3 separate regions of the Homo sapiens genome follow, and regions 1 and 2 are each linked to region 3. Evidence: promoter capture Hi-C in 16 types of primary human blood cells and fetal thymus (Javierre and others, 2016). All regions are on one chromosome and are shown on one strand. The core of a region is centred on a gene start or on the middle of the fragment in contact, and the rest is flanking DNA. Distances in the headings are between cores, read along the strand shown.

The links. The method cuts DNA at HindIII sites, captures the fragments that hold promoters and counts their contacts. A CHiCAGO score of 5 or more calls a contact.
Region 1: a fragment that was not itself captured here is called in contact with the fragment with the promoter of FSHB in region 3 in 1 of 17 cell types (endothelial precursors); the score reaches 7.9 in endothelial precursors.
Region 2: a fragment that was not itself captured here is called in contact with the fragment with the promoter of FSHB in region 3 in 1 of 17 cell types (M0 macrophages); the score reaches 5.3 in M0 macrophages.

Annotation. Positions count from the first base shown.
Region 1 is chr11:29,421,013-29,424,347 of GRCh38, reverse strand. The region is part of intron 2 of LINC02755 (long intergenic non-protein coding RNA 2755); the gene reads left to right. Among named protein-coding and RNA genes, the nearest start is that of LINC02755, 170 kb to the left of the region's middle. The HindIII fragment of the contact is 539 bases long and covers 1,358-1,896 here.
Region 2 is chr11:30,836,436-30,839,454 of GRCh38, reverse strand. The region is part of intron 3 of LOC107984419 (a long non-coding RNA gene); the gene reads left to right. Among named protein-coding and RNA genes, the nearest start is that of LINC02859, 100 kb to the right of the region's middle. The HindIII fragment of the contact is 3,827 bases long and covers 1-3,019 here.
Region 3 is chr11:30,229,360-30,232,542 of GRCh38, reverse strand. FSHB (follicle stimulating hormone subunit beta) reads right to left here and starts at 1,529. Exons shown (of 3, transcript NM_001382289.1): 1 at 1,495-1,529; 2 at 482-677. The coding sequence starts at 640. The region is part of intron 1 of ARL14EP-DT (ARL14EP divergent transcript); the gene reads left to right. The HindIII fragment of the contact is 8,364 bases long and covers 1-1,628 here.

The DNA.
Region 1 (3,335 bases), core at 378-2,877, 810 kb after region 3:
CTTTTTATAAGTGAGAACATGCAAGTTTTGACTTTCTGTATATGAGTAATTTCATTTAGAATAAGAGCCTCTAGTTCCATCCATTTGGAGAGAGGGGAACTTTTTTTTAATGAATTACAGTTATGCATCACTTACGGATGGACATGTATTCTAAGAGATGCATTATTAGGTGTTTTCATCATTGTACAAACCTCAGAGTGTACTTATACAAATCTAGATGGCATAGGCTACTACACACCTAGGCTATATAATATAGCCTATTGCTCCTGGGCTACAAACCTGTACAGCAGGTTACTGTACTGAATGTTGTAGGCAATTGCAACACAATGGTAAGTATTTGGGCATCTAAACAAATCTAAAATATGGAAAAAGTACAGTAAACATTAGGTAGTATGGTCTTATGAGACCACTGGTGTATATGGCCTGTCATTGAACAAAATGTCGTTATGCAGTACATGAATGTACTTAAATAGATGAAAGGGTGTTATATGGTGGAAATTTGGAGAATTGGCTTTAAATAGGAGCATGCATAATCTATGTGTATACATAGGAAAAAAGGGCAAGTGTATAAACACAAATGCTAGTATGTCAGTAGTTTCAGTAGTGGAAGTTTGTAGAAATTCTTCTCAAGTACTTCAATTTCCTTAATGAAGTAGAAACTCAAATGAGAATGGGGTTTGAAGAGAAAAAGGAATGCATAAAATAATCTTCTTACAAGTAAGTAAATGAGTGGACTGAAGAAATGTAGTTTTACTGTCAAGCAATAAAGGTTGGGCTTGAAATTTGTGGTAATGATTTTAACCTGAGTGGTCATACACATTTATCCAGCCACATCTAGCTATACTGATGCAGTTCTGAGTAGGTAAGGAATTGCATTTACCCAGGACTGTGATTTTAACAACAGAATAGAATGAACCTAGAGATAGAATCAAGGAGGTTGAAACAAATGCAAAGCAGTGTTTCAATTGGCTGACTATGAAATTCAATCTGTGGTAAAGATAAAATGAAGACACTAGGAGAGTGAGAAAAAGATGGGAGCATCAATGGAACTTACAAAGGAGGCTTTGTGAATATTTTGCCTCCCTTGATTTAACTGAAAACAAGGGAACTTTAAATTAATAGGAGGGTCTGATTTAAGAGCTCTAAATTGACACAGTATCTCAACATTAAAGATATTTTTAATCTATTAGAAACTAAGAGAGTTTTATTGTTTATATAGTCAGACAAAATGAAAACAAGACAAAAAGTAAGTAAATATAATAACATTTTATGTCATGTTTAGCTATTCAGAGTACTGGTCTCTGTAATCCTATTTTATTTTCCCAATGTCTTATCTCTGTATTGTAAAACTAAAGCTTAAAAGACTGGTGTCATTTAGGTTCCAGTAAGTTCTAGACATTCTCTAATCTGAATACTAAAATGGTGTAGACAGAGGGAATATGGCAAGACTCAATCCTGATTTCTTGTTTCTAAAGTGATCTTTGGAAACAAAATGTCCTTTGTGTGACTTTGAAAATTATCTTCATTCTTTCTCTGCCCTATTGTCGAAAGACATTTGAAGAACATTTTTAATGCCCATCTTCTGGGGGTTGTGTTGGTTCATCAGAAACCAACTTTTCCACCTACCTGTTTAATTCATTATATATGGTATTTATCCTGCTTTACATGGGAATTCTCAGACAAAAGTGGCTTAAAATAATTTTAAGTTGCTTTGAACTGTCAATCTAACTCTATTACTAATGGAAATGAAGAAAAGCCACAAAAGCAAGTATTTTGGAACATTTTTCAGCCAAAGCTGGTTAGCAATGAGAAACAATAATCTAAAAAAATACATAATTAAATAGAATAAGAAAATTACTAGAGTAGAGAACAAACTACTCGAATAGAATAGAAGCTTTAAAAACCAATCTTATTAGGACTTGTGTTTAGCTTTGTAAGTAAAAATGTGCTTAAGGCAAAAAAAAATTTAAAACAATGTATATGTATCTTTAGAATTTTACTTAAATATAAAGCATACAAATATGCATTTATTTGCCAGTCTTTTGCTGTAAAGCTAAAGTCTTTTATTTGAGTATGAGTCCACTGATTGCAGTGTCAATCATTTTTTCTAGTTTCAATTTTTTGTGAAGGATGTGAGAATGTTTTTTAATTGTGAAAAAATCTCTGAAGAAGTCTAAATTTTTACTATTATCTTTACTCTGCATTTTAGATTTCTTCCTTAAGACTAAATCAGTATCAACTTATTTTTTGCCAATAACTTTTATCAAGATGTCCTACTTAATTAGTGTAAAATAATATCCCTTAAAAATTTGCACATTTATTTCATGGTGTTTAAAAAGTACTATTTAATTAATTTAATTACATAATTAGAGCACTTACTATTGACCTAAACAGATAAAAAATGTGAATTTTTTAAATACACAGCTGGAGGTAGTTGAAGCAAGTAGCTTAAAAGAAGTCATTCATCACATTTTTACAGCAAACTGAGGGCATTGTTCGTAATGTTTTCCAGAAGGAATTAAGCATATTGGTTAATCCACAAGGCAGATGAAGTGCTTATAGTTTAAAATGGCTTCTGCTATTTTTGTACCCTTTGATATTTGTAAGGAAATTACATTAGAAAACTCAAGTTTCTGAAAATACCTATAGCAAAGACACCTGCTTGATAATTTTTTTTGTTTTTTTTTCCACTACTCAATCCCTACACTTTTTTTTTAAATTATTATTATTATACTTCAAGTTTTAGGGTACATGTGCACAATGTGCAGGTTAGTTACATACGTATACATGTGCCATGCTGCTGCGCTGCACCCACTAACTCGTCATCTAGCATTAGGTATATCTCCCAATGCTATTCCTCCCCGCTCCCCCCACCCCACAACAGTCCCCAGAGTGTGATATTCCCCTTCCTGTGTCCATGTGTTCTCATTGTTCAATTCCCACCTATGAGTGAGAATATGCGGTGTTTGGTTTTTTGTTCTTGCGATAGTTTACTGAGAATGATGATTTCCAATTTCATCCACGTGCCTACAAAGGACGTGAACTCATCATTTTTTATGGCTGCATAGTACTCCATGGTGTATATGTGCCACATTTTCTTAATCCAGTCTATCATTGTTGGACATTCGGGTTGGTTCCAAGTCTTTGCTATTGTGAATAATGCCGCAATAAACATACGTGTGCATGTATCTTTATAGCAGCATGATTTATAGTCCTTTGGGTATATACCCAGTAATGGGATGGCTGGGTCAAATGGTATTTCTAGTTCTAGATCCCTGAGGAATCGCCACACTGACTTCCACAATGGTTGAACTAGTTTGCAGTCCCAGCAACAG
Region 2 (3,019 bases), core at 54-2,553, 610 kb before region 3:
AAGATGAGCCTGAAACATCTTTTTTGTGCCATTAAGTAAGAAAGTGCTCAAAGAATACTAGGGACATGTCAAAAGGACATAGAAGCCAGTGTGAAGGGGCTCCTACTGAGCAAATCTCAGTGATGCTGATGCCCAATAGCTGCTTTCCCCAGGTCAACTGGTTTCCGTCTAAGTTCCGTCAATGGGAGGCTGAGTTTGGACTATCAGTGGAAGACCGTGCCCAGGGGTTTCCTCTCTTTCAGGGAGTCTCCAGCTCCAGAGGTCTTTCCTGCATTGTTACAGCTTCTCTGTGGTTCTAGGTAATGTGGGTGACCATGACTCCTGGGCTCTACTATCACTTTCTCTCACCTTTGTTTCCCCACCCGCTTCATGGTAGCAACTTCTTGCTGTTGCTCATCTTTACATTGCTTCACCATCCCCGTTGAGTTTCTCTGAATGCCTATCATTTGTGTATCCCATTTCCTGAATTAAATTCTCTATGTTTAGATATTTAAGGAGGTTTCTGTTTTTCTAATTCGACCCCTACTGATGCTCTAGACAAATATTGGCAAAAAGAAAGATGGTATAATTATGTTAACATTAGACAGCACGGACTTTCAGACAAAAAACATGCATGAGATAAACATATAACATAATACAATCATGCAATATAAGAAAATATAACAAAATTCTAAATAGTATGTACCTAATAATCTACCAAGTTATATGCAGCAAATACTAATAAAACTGCAAAGAAAACAGACAAATCACTATTAAAATGGGATATATTTAGCACATTTCTCTCAGTAAGTGATAGCTCATGCTCTCCAGGAATAAGAATATAGATTTCTAAAATACAATTAAGAAACTTTATGTAGTAGACATACAAAGGCCATCACACCAATAACAAGAGAATACATATTTTGTTCAAGCACACATGGATCCCAGATCACATTTTACGCAATAAAAGAGGGCTTACTAAATTTCAAAGGGTATCATACAGCCCACATTCCTAACAATAACACAATATGTTAGAAATCAATAACAAAGAGGCATTTAAAATAATCTCATACATTTGGGAGAAAAAAAAACCTCCTGAGTAAAGAGGAAATCCAATAGAAATTTTAAAATACTTGTATCTGAAAAATAATAGAAAAAATAAAGTAGTATTTTAGGAAAATTTAATGCCTTATAAATTTCTATATAAAAAAAGGAAGGATTAAAATTAAGAATGTTGGACCATCCTGGCCAACATGGTGAAATCCCGCCTCTGCTAAAAATACAAAAAAAAAAGCCGGGCGTGGTGGTGGGTGTCTGTAATCCCAGCTCCTCGGGAGGCTGAGGCAGGAGAATGGAGTGAACCCAGGAGGCGGAGCTTGCAGTGAGCTGAGATCCCGCCACTGCACTCCAGGGTGGGCGATAGAGCGAGACTCTGTCTCAAAAAAAAAAAAAAAAAAGAATTTTAAATAGGAACAACAGTCTAAACCCAACAAAAGTAGAGGACAGAAAATGTCAAAAACAGAAGCAGATATTAATAAAAAATAAAAAAAGGGTAAATTCAGCTGCATTAAAATTAAGAAATTTTGTTCACTAAAAAGCATAATAGAATGAAAAAAGGACATATACTGGAAATAGCATTTATAACATATATTAGCAACAAAGGAACAATATTCAGAACATAAATAATTCCTACCCATCAATAAAACAAACAACCCTACCAAAAATGACAAAATAAATAAATAAGTACTTTACAGAGGAAGAAACTTGCACTGGCATAAACATGAGAAGATGCTCTACTTTATTAATAATAGACTAAATCCCAAACATGTTTTTTTGTTGTTGACAACCACAAGAATGACAAATTTTCACACATGACAATCCCAAACATTGGTGAGGAGGTGCAGTAAAGAGGATTTATGCACTGTTGTTGGGAATGTAAATTGAAACAATTTTTGTGAATAACCCAGTACATTTGGATATGCATATGCCATACAACCAATCAATTCATTTTCTAGGCATTCCCTAAATTAACTGATGCACATATGCACCAGTAGCTGTGTACAAGAATGTCCATGCAACATTTTCGTAAATATACTTTATTTTTAGAGCAGTTTTATGTTGAGAGCAAAACTGAGCAGAAGGTATGGAGTTTTCATATACTCCCTGATCCCACACAGGCACAGCTTTTCCACTGTTAATGTCCTGCACCCCAGGGGAACATTTGTTATCATCAATAAACCTACATTGACACATCATTGTCACCCAAAGTCCATGGTTTACATTAGGGTTCACTCTTGATGTTGTACATTCTCTGCATTTTGAGAAATCTGTAATGGTATGTATCCACCATTTTAATATCATATAGAGTAGCTTCACTGCCTGAAAAATCCTCTGTGCTCTCCCTATTGATCCATCCTCCCCTCAAACACACATCAGCCACTGATCTCTTTACTGTCTTCATAGTTTTGCCTTTTCCAGAATTACATATAGTTAAAATCATACCATATGTAGCCTTTCCAGATGGCGTCTTTCACTTACATATGCATATGAGCTTCTTCTATGTCTTTTCATGGCTTGATGGCTCATTCCTTTTCAGTGCTGAATAATATTCATTGTCCGGATGTGCCACAGTTTACTTATCCATTCACCTACTGAAGGACATCTTGGTTGCTTTCAAGTTTTGGCAATTGTGAATAAAGCCACTATAAACATCCTAGTGCTGGTTTTTCTATGAACATAAGTTTTCAACTCATTTGGGTAAATACCAAACAGCATGACTATTGGATCAGATGATAAGAATATCTTAGTTTTGTAAGAAACTGCAAAATCATCTTCCATATGCCTGTATCATTTTGTATTCCCACCAGCAATAAATGAGGGTTCCTGTTGCTTCACATTCTTGCCAGCATTTGGTGTTGTCAATACTCTAGATTTTGGCCATTCTAATAGGTGTGTAGTGGAATTGCATTGTTGTTTTCATTCTCAATTCCCTAATGCCATATGATATTGAACATCTTTTCATATGCTTCTTGGTTACCTG
Region 3 (3,183 bases), core at 280-2,779:
GCATTTGTATTTAGTAGGGCCAGGAAGACAATTTTTTTAAGTGGCTGTCTATGTTTTTATGTGACTTGGAGACATATTTTGGTGTGATTTTGTGTCAAAGATGTAGTGTCAGTTAAAGAAATTGCCTTTATGAGAATATTATAGGTCCTTTATGATTAAATATATGTATGTTTCCATGTTTATCTCTCTATGTGTAAAAACGTAACATAGAAATACTTTTTCCCTGTAGATGCAAAGTTGGACTAGTACCAAATTGATCAGATTAAATCTGAGGCTTTCCTAAATTTACCCAAATCAAATCCAAGCCCAAACATCTAAGTGATATCGTGGTCATTAACCCCAATCACAACACAGACAGTCTTGGCTAAAGGACTCATGGCTGTTACTTAGAATACATAAAATATTGATAAAGTAGAAACTAATGAAACCGGCCTAATACAGACCTTCAACACCCTTGCTTCCAGCAAAACATGGTACCTACCCTGGTGTAGCAGTAGCCAGCACACCAAGTGGTGTTGATGCTTATGCAGAAACGACATTCTTCTTTCTCTATTGCAATGGTGATGTTGGTCAGCTCACAGCTATTGCAGCAGATTGCTTTCCAGCAACAGAAAAGGAAGAAAAACTGGAGTGTCTTCATCCTGGTCTGGGAAGCAAACAATGAAGCCCACTAGAAACTGAGAAACCAAAGAACGATAATCATTATGTAAGCTGACCAAACCAAAAATAATTGGTCTGCTCATCCTCCTCAATCACATTTTGCTTCAAAAGTTTTTTTTCCTTCCTTATGCCTTTTTACTTACATCTTTGTTTCTTGGAACAACATTTTTCCTTGTCCTTCTTCAATTTTTGGGTCAGGGTGGGAATATATTATAGATCAAAACTCCAATATAATGATTTAAGCAGAGGAATATTTAAAGATTAGAATCTTATTGCTGACTGTCATAAAGTAATTACTCTGATAATTGTGATCATCATATTTGTTCTTCCATTATTATTTTAAAGTCTATTTTTGTCTGAAAAGAAAAATAAAATTCTTTTCTTTTCTTGAGACAGGGTCTTGCTCTGTTGCCCAGGCTGGAGTGCAGTGGTATAATCATGAATCACTGCATCTTCAACCTTCCAGGCTCAAGCAATCCTCTGACCTTGGCCTCCCAAAGTGCTGGGATTACAAGCATGAGCCACCATTCCTGGCCAAGAAAATTCTATACTACAAAATTATGTCTTCATTTTTAGAATCTCATAAATATTTTCTTTTGCTCACATTTGTTTAAAATAAGACCATTTCAGAAGAGAGGCATATTGGTCTATAAAGTCAGTTACTTGCTAACAGTGATTACGTTATATTAACCATATTTTACAAGCCAGGTTGACAAGCATAAATTTCCTACACAACAGTAGTGAGAAGCTCTAGTTTTGTCCTCCATGTCCTGACAAATCTGTAATTTCAAAAGTAGCTGTCACCACTTGAAAACGGTAGATGCCAAGACTCACCTGTGGTCGGCTGCCTTGCCTGGCAAGAGCTGTAGACTGAATGAAATCTCAGTTCACCTTTTATACAAAATCATGTGCAACTAACACCTTGTGGATTTGTTGGGTATTAATATGACCAATGCTAGCCTGAAGCTTGCTGTAAGTGAATCAGTGTTTAGATAGACAGGGAGATCAAGCTTTACTAAAGTAGTCTAAACGCAGTAGATTAGAAAAAATAATGTTACTAGAGATGATGATTTTGTACAAATTAAATTTGATACAGTAGCACACCCACTCCTTTACCTTCTCAAATTAATTGTGACTCCAGATTTTTCTTTTGTATCTTTAAATCAGGAAATTCAGAGTCCTTTCCAAGTATTGCTTTGACTCTGTTCAGGAGATGCATTAAAAAATATGGTTAATAAATTGCTCCAAGAGCATATCAAAAGCTGTGAAGGAAGAAACAAACAAAGAGAAAACATTTCATGATCTGGCTCCTGTCTAAAGTGTGAACTGTATCTCTCTTTCCCTCCCACATTCTGGCCCCCTAATCACAAATCTTTATTTTTTGATGTTTTAGCAAGAACTTTCTACTTTACTTGTAATTCCATAAATATGTTGCTGATTCATATCTTTAGATCTTTGCATGTAATGTTCTTCCTGCCTGAAATGTCCTTGCTTCCTCCCTGCCTCCTCCAACACCACCCTGAACCCTGGCAAATTCCTCAACCTTCAACATCCAGGGGAGTTTCACCTGTCAAAGTTTAGGATGGGAGGTGAGGGAGAACCATAATCACTACCTTCTGTGTGTAACCATTTATAGGCTCTTGTTTCCTCCAATAAACTATGATCTCTTTGGAGACTAGGATTGCTTTGTTTAATAAATATTTACTAATCAAACAGTGTGACTGGAGCAAAAGGACAACAGCAGTAATATTAGAATATGATGTCAGAGAGATAACAGGAGTCAAATGTTGGAACTTGTAGACCAGTGTAAGGGCTCTGGTTTGTACTCTTTGTGTAATGGGACCCATTGAAGGATTTTAAGTAGAGGAGTGACGTGACATGATCTGATTGAGTTCTAAAAGGACTCCTCTGACTGCTGTGTTGCTAATATAGGGGAACCAAGAAACAGGAAGACCCGTTAGGATGCTATCAATAACCCAGGTGAGAAATGATGTTTGTTCAATAACCCAGGTGAGAAATGATGTTTGTTCAGACTAGTATGGTAGCTATTGGAGGTAATGAGACATGCTCTGACTCTGTATGCATTTTGAAAGTAGAACCAACAAAATTTTCTGATGGATAGATGTTGAGTGTGAGAGGAGGAAAAGGGTCAAGGATGGCTCTAAAGATTCTGGTTTGAGTAGCTGGAAGGATAAACTTGCTATCAGCTGAAAGGGGATGGCTGTAAATGTCGAAGTTTGGGAAAAGGAAATGGAGTTCAGTATGCACATGTTGAGCTTGAGTTGTTTGTACTACATCCAGGAGATAATGAAGTTTCTTTTTCCTCTTTCCAAAGGAGACTGAGGAGGGCCATTGAGGAAAGTAGGAATGGGGAGAATATGGTGTCCCAAAAGCCAAATAAAGAGAGCATCTCAGGGAGGAGCCAGTGACACCTGTGTCAGATACTGCTGACAGGTTAAGTAAGATGAGGATCAAGAACTTCACAATGCATATGCGATGTAAAGTTCGCTACTGTCCTTGGCT